2 separate regions of the Homo sapiens genome follow, and region 1 is linked to region 2. Evidence: promoter capture Hi-C in human tissues and cell types (Jung and others, 2019). All regions are on one chromosome and are shown on one strand. Each heading gives the region's core, a stretch centred on a gene start or on the middle of the fragment in contact. The rest is flanking DNA. Distances are from core to core; before and after follow the strand shown.

Region 1 (3,302 bases), core at 47-2,546, 69 kb before region 2:
CGGGCCTGTGGACGGGCCTTTCTTTCTTCTTGGGGTGGACCCCGTCCCCACGATCCCTAAATGGCCACCCCCCAGACAGCCCAACAGGCAGCGAGAGGCCTGCAGGCACTGAGGATGCCAACAGGGCTGGAGAGAGCTGCAGCGTCCTGCCCCGTCCTCCCCACACCGCTGGCACACGAGCAGTCAACTGGTGCTGCTGAGGCAGGCCAAACACCACATTTATAATTCAAGCTTCCAAGGGAAAAAGATTCTCATGTTCTAGTAAAGATACAAATTTTAAAAATTGTCCAAAAAGGGCCTGAATTTTTATATGAAGGTTTTCTGGTGAAATCTTTTAAGCAGGGAGGAAAATCCAATAAATTTTTTTAAAAAGGTTTAGCTATTCCCCAATGCTATTTAATACAATTGAGGTTAGGACGTTAAGTCCTTATCAGACTGTGTACTGGAGCCCCGTGTCATCAGCAAAAGCCGTGTGAGTCAACAGGTGTGAAGACTCAAGATGCGCACACAGACGCTGTCCGTGGTTTTATGGGGAATGATGAGGGCTGGTCAGTTCTCCTCATGACAAAAGTCAAACCGACTTCCCTGTGTTGCGTGTGAAGCTTGTTAGTGGACAGAGAGAAACGCAGGGTTCTGCCCTGGGAGAATGACAGCCACAGCGCTGGGTGCCGTCAGGCGGCTTCGTGTGCAGTTAGCGTTTCACAAACTGAGAAGAGTATAAAAAAGCCCAAACCCCAAAGATTTCTTATTTCAAGTGACTAAATCTAGAAACAGAGATGAACAGGGAATAGAAGGTCACCAGTCTGCAAGACGAGAGGACTGTCCTTCAGGGGCAGCTCTCCGGCCGCCTGTCCTGGAAGGCTGGCAGGTTCACTGGCCAAGGTCAGGAGACCGCAATGGCCACGTGGTCTCCCGGCTGGGCTGGGCTGCGGAGCGTGCACCTCACAGGAAGCGTCGGGACTGATGTGCTGGAGCGCTTTAGTTGTTTTCAAATCTAGCATACGGGTTTTCTTCTTTAAACAGGCCTGAAACAAAATAAACTTGAATCATAACTTCATTCATTCAACCAGAAACAAAATCTTAGAAAGCCATACAAACCAAGCTTTATAAGAAGATTTACTGAGGCTATAGCAACAACGGGCATTGTAAGCAGGCTCTCATACAGTGCTTAACCTTTTTTGAAGTCAAACCACTTTAAACTTTAAAACTGAAATAAAATTTACTAGAAACAAGAACTCTAACAGATCCTAAGAGATAAGCACTTACTTCCTGATGCTCGGCGAAGAAAAGAAATTTAAGGCAAGTATTTCTTTCCACAGTGGTTGGCTAGTTCCACAGTGGATGGCTACTATTAAACAAAATAACCTTACTTTGTGCTTATAGCTGCTCTTAAACCTTTGGAATTAAGGCTACAGAAAGAACTAAGATGACCATCAATCTAACTCTCGAGTACTCTGACAAAACTGGGATAAAATGTGTATTTAATCATAAGAGTAAACCTGTGCTACTTACCCAAAGACCAGGAGTTTTCCCTTCACACTGCAGAAACACACACACATACACACACTCTCTCTCCCTTTATTTTTTATTTTTTTTTGAGACAGAGTTTTGCTCTTGTTGCCCAGGATAGAGTGCAATGGCGCAGTCTCGGCTCACTGCAATCTCCGCCTCCTGGGTTCAAGGAATTCTCCTGCCTCAGCCTCCGGGTAGCTAGGACTGCAGGCACCCACCACCATACTTGGCTAATTTTTGTATTTTTAGTAGAGACGGGGTTTCACCATGTTGGTCAGGCTGGTCTCGAACTCCCAACCTCAGGTGATCCACCACCTTGGTCTCCCAAAGTGTTGGGATTACAGGCGTGAGCCACCGTGCCTGGCCTCTCTCTCCCTTTAACAATCTGTATTGTACACTAAAATTATCTGCAGCGATTACAACAAAGCTACTCACTGCATGTATTCTGGGGGCTGGGTGGAAGAGGCGGCGGGGAAGCAGAGGGATGGTAAGGAAGGGCCTAGCCATGTTTCTTTCTTGCCTGTCAAGGAGGGCCACAGGCATCAGGCTTTGGGAGTGAGGCTCAAAGTCGGTTTTGGGAAAGAGTCATCAGATACTAGCAAGGAGGCTGGTTAAGTTCTTATTGAAAAACTCGCTCCTGAGTCTACTTCCAGTTTAGAGGGAAAACCAAAACCAAAAGAAGGGTTTTTGCGTGCGTGCTGGTATTTTATATAACTGCACCAGGTGGACTCACATGCTTTCTCGCACTCTCCCATCAGGAATTCCTAGGAATTCTTCTAACTAGCCGAGGCTTTCCAAAGCACAGGCCATTCAATGGCTTTATTACAAACTGGCACAAAAAGCTCATTTCATCAATGCAATTAAAGGGCCAAATTAACCACCAAAATGGCAAGTGCAAGTCAATCAGGGCCCTGACACAGAAGACACCACTCCAAGAGCCTGGCCGGCCACCCACAGCCTCACACCCGCTGGGAGTCAGGGCACAGTAAAGGTCGAGCAACTTAAACACAGCTTGTGCTTGGTGATAACAGGTGCTGGGCAGTGTGTGCGTGTGTGCGCGTGTGCGTGTGTGTGTATCCACCTTGTCTTTTATTTACATTAACATTAGTCTGGCTGGGTGTGGTGGCTCATGCCTATAATCCCAGCACTCTGGGAGGCCGAGGCGGGCGGATCACGAGGTCAGGAGATTGAGACCATCCTGGCTAACACAGTGAAACCCCATCTCTACTAAAAAATACAAAAAATTAGCTGGGCGTAGTGGTGGGCACCTGTAGTCCCAGCTACTCAGGAGGCTGAGGCAGAAGAATGGTGTGAACCTGGGAGGCAGAGCTTGCAGTGAGCTGACATCGCGCCACTGCACTCCAGCCTGGGCGACAAGGTGAGACTCCGTCTCAAAAAAAAAAAAAAAAAAAAATTAGGTGCCAAAAAGCTCTTGACTCTTCCATTTCAAGGAAAGCACAATGCCTCCAGCCAAGGCCTGCAGAGATGCTGCTGGGCCCACGCTCCACGTACACAGGCATGCACTCGCTGAGGAGGGCAACCCTGGTGCTGCTCCTTATGACAGTCACACGCAGGTACCCGGTCACCACCCACTCCAGACACACACCGGGAAACAACAGGCGACAGAGAGGGTGGGGCAAGGACAAGGCAGCAGTGAAGAGAACCCAGAGAGTCAGCGCCCAAGCACACGGCACTCAGGAGACTGATGGGCGGGAACACATAGGAAAAAGCCTCTATCAGCCACTGGGCATCTCGAGGCCAGCAGCCAAGGCAGCCTCACGCCCCCAAGC
Region 2 (3,598 bases), core at 540-3,039:
ACAGCCCGCCCGGTCACCTGCTTCACCGAGGGCCACAGCCCCCCCGGGGTCAGGTGGCCACAGGGGTCCTGGCCATGTGGGACATCTGTTCTGTGGCCCTGCTCAGGATGGCACCCGGCGGGGACTGGCCCTGGGGCCGAGGCATGGGCTCAGCCGCCGCCCTGCAGGGACGTAGCCAGGGACCTCTTCCCAGCAGAGGGACTCCCCCACTCATCCCCAGAATACTGAGGGGCACGCTGGGTGCCAGGCTGGCAGGGACCCTGGGGATTCTGCTGTGAGCTGGATGGGGAAGGAGTTCCTTCCTAAAATGTGGAGTCTGGAGGCCACTCTTGGTAAAGTGCTGGCCCCCGGGGATTCTGCAGTGAGCTGGGCATGGATTCTGCAGTGAGCTGGGCTTCACTCATGGTGAAACGCTGGGGTGACGGCAGACAGCCCAGAGCTTCTAGCAGCTCATTTCTGTGAAGCCTCCAGAATCCGGCCTCAGCCCCCAAACCCGCAGGCGTTGCGCCACCGTCACGGGGAAGGCGAGTGACAGCGAGTGTCCCCTATGCCCCCACAGCTCGCTCCCAGGCTGAGCTCTCCGGCCATCCCCCCCCTTCCCCATTGCAGCCATGCCACCCCTCCTTCTCCCCACCCAGGAACTGACAGAGGAGAGGGGCCCCGGATGGACAGGGACAGCAGGGCAGAATCCCAGCTCCCAGATCCAGGGGAGGGGGGATTGGGTGTGGGGACGGTGGTGCAAGGGGTGGTGCCAGGGGTGGAGGATGCATGGGGAGGGCTGGCCCCAAGAGTGCAGTGTTGGGGGAAGGGGGCCAGGTGGGCCTGGGACCCAGGGGCGTGGCTTCAATCCCCCTCCCACCAGGACCTTGGGAATGGCCTCCAGGAGCCTGTTGTGGGGAGGCCAGGGTCACCAGCTGAACCAACTCGACCAGAATCGCACAGCGGTGCCCGCTCCCCTACAGCAAGACGTCACCCAGGGGTCCCCACGGAGGAGGCAGGGAAGCTCGAGGGTCCCAGAGGAGCATGGAGCATGTGCCACACCACACCACACTACATTACACATGTGCACCATACATGTACATACAACAGACTCCCCACATCACATGCGCACACTCGCACACCATACATGCACACACACACACCACACTACGCTATGCCACACACGTGCACCATACATGCACACCATGCCACACTACACACACGACACTACACACCACGAACCACACCACACCATATCACACACCACACACTGCGAGTCGATCTGGAGATGGAATCGCTGTAGCCAGGCGGGGCAGCATGCAGACAGGAGGGCCTAACACAGGCAGGCGCAGCAGGTTCACAGAGGAGGCCCCGGGAACCTGCCTCCTGCCCAGCCCGGAGCACCAGGACCCCCCAGCCGTCCCCCTAGGGGCTTGTGGGCCCAGCCTCTTCCTGGCCTTGCCGGCCTCACAGCCCCTTGTCCTCCCATGCCGGCCCCATCCTCAGCCGCAAGCGCTCCCAGCACACCATGTGGCTCTGCTCTTGGTGGCAGGCACTTCCCCTTGCCGGGTCTCAAAGGGGACCCTGGAGCAGACGGTCTGGAGACCCCTTCCTGCCAGACACCCCTGGGCCGGGGCTATAAGCAGGGCCACCAGGGTCACTCCAGGCTGGGGCAGGAGAGTGCTTCCCTCCAAAAATCACCGTGGACATAGCGGGGCCTCTGCACACTCACCCTCGGTGTGCTGGAGTCCTCGGCGGTGCTCCTGGCTGGGCGTGGGGGCTTTGCTACCAGTCTGCCCTGGGTCACGTCTAGAAACCTCAGCTGGAGGCGCGGGTCGTAAAGTCCTGACACTTCCTGTTCCTCTCAGCTCCTCCTTGGAGGAAGTGGTGGGTTGCACCACCGTGGCCCTTCACCCCTGCCCCTCTCCGCTCTACAGCAGCTCTGATGTCAGAGAGCGGCCCCTTGAGACAGGTGGGACATGTCATTTCTCACATGAGGTCCCGGCGAGAAGGACCTGCTTCCATCAGATTCACACTTGGGAGAGGGGCCCGGCCTCCAGGAGCGCCAGGCAGAAAGGGCACCCATTAGGAAGAAGAACACAGAGGCCATGGGAGTGAAAAGTTTGATGCTGGAAAGCAACAGTAGCACATTCTGCTACAGAGCGGAATGAAAAACCCTGGGGAGCAAATTCCTGAGCCAGAGAATGGAGCGGAGGAACCAGCCAAGGAGGATAAAGAGGTGGGAACAGGCAAGAAAACCTGGGTGCGTGCACGCATTGACATCCACCTGCATGTGAGGGCGGGAGGGGACAGAACAGGGACAGCGAGGAGGAGACACTCAGGTCACAGGAGGAAGGCTGCGGATCTGGGCGGGGACGTGGATTGCGAGGCCACTGAACACCCCAGGGATGGATGGATGAGGTCCTGTTAACTAGGGACATTAGGAGGATACCACAGAACACGAAAGGGAAAATACTACAGGCTCAGAGAGAGAGAGAAGGGAGAGGAGGAGGAGGAGGAAGAGGAGGGAAAGAGATTATACCTAGAAAAAAAACCCAAATCAGACATCTTCAGAGCAAGGACTCAGACACATTACTACCCTAAACTCTGTTTTATTTATTTATTTATTTTTATGTTTTCAGTTTTTTTTGAGACAGAGTTTTGCTTTTGTCACCCAGGCTGGAGTGCAGTGGCGTGATCTCAGCTCACTGCAACCTCTGCCTCCCGGGTTCAAGCAATTCTCCTGCCTCAGCCTCCCAAGTAGCTGGGATTACAGGCACATGTACCACCACGCCTGGGTAATTTTTGTATTCTTAGTAGAGACAGGGTTTCACTATGTTGACCAGGCTGGTCTTGAACTCCTGGCTTCAAGTGATCCATCCACCTCTGCCTTCCAAAGTGCTGGGATTACTGGCGTGAGCCATGGCTCCCGGCTCCTAAACTCTGTTTTAAAGATGTCTTGCAGAAATAGACATGAAGAAATCCATGAGAAATACAAGAGCAGATGATACAAAGTTGGGCAAAGAAATAAGTAAAAATTATGATGTCATAACCTGTTGATTTAAAAAATAGTGGTAAGAATATTAACGCTGTGAAACAAAACGCCTAGAGGACTGGGTTGGGAGGGGCCAGGGAGCACATTGCCGTTCCATCCTATCTGGGGAGGAATATAGATGCTTGTCAGTGGGCATTTTGATAGAAAATATCTAAGTATATATGCTAACAATTCAAGAGTCTCCTTAAGAATAAAAATAGCATGTATATACCTGAAAAAAAATATGACAAATCTTTATTTTGGGCATGGTGGCTCAAACTTGTAATCCCAGCACTTTGGGAGGCCGAGGTGGGAGGATCACTTGAGCCCAGGAGTTCGAGACCAGCCTAGGCAACATTTGGAGACCCAGACCCTCATCTCTACAAAAAAATTTTCTAAGAATTCGCCAGGCATGGTAGCACGCGATATGGTCCAGGCTACTTGGGAGGCTGAGGTGGGAGAATTGCTTGAGCCCAAGAGGTTGAGGCTACGGTGAACCATGCTTACACCACTGCACTCCAGTCTGGGTAACTGAGAAAAAAAAAAAAAAAAAAAGGCAAATCCTTTAAAAGAAAAAAGTAAGGG

What was found. The method cuts DNA at HindIII sites, captures the fragments that hold promoters and counts their contacts. A contact is called where the count stands out against the background at its distance.
Region 1: a contact is called between a fragment that was not itself captured here and the fragment with the promoter of ITGB2 in region 2, in 5 of the 25 tissues and cell types used here (dorsolateral prefrontal cortex, lymphoblastoid cells, mesenchymal stem cells and 2 more).

The regions. Positions count from the first base shown.
Region 1 is chr21:44,850,603-44,853,904 of GRCh38, forward strand. PTTG1IP (PTTG1 interacting protein) reads right to left here. Exons shown (of 6, transcript NM_004339.4): 6 at 1-1,025. The coding sequence ends at 979. Among named protein-coding and RNA genes, the nearest start is that of PTTG1IP, 21 kb to the right of the region's middle. The HindIII fragment of the contact is 3,314 bases long and covers 1-2,953 here.
Region 2 is chr21:44,919,110-44,922,707 of GRCh38, forward strand. It overlaps ITGB2 (integrin subunit beta 2), which reads right to left and starts at 1,790. Exons shown (of 16, transcript NM_000211.5): 1 at 1,712-1,790. It overlaps ITGB2-AS1 (ITGB2 antisense RNA 1), which reads left to right and starts at 1,926. Exons shown (of 3, transcript NR_038316.1): 1 at 1,926-2,218. RefSeq lists a silencer at 381-440. The HindIII fragment of the contact is 46,650 bases long and covers 1-3,598 here.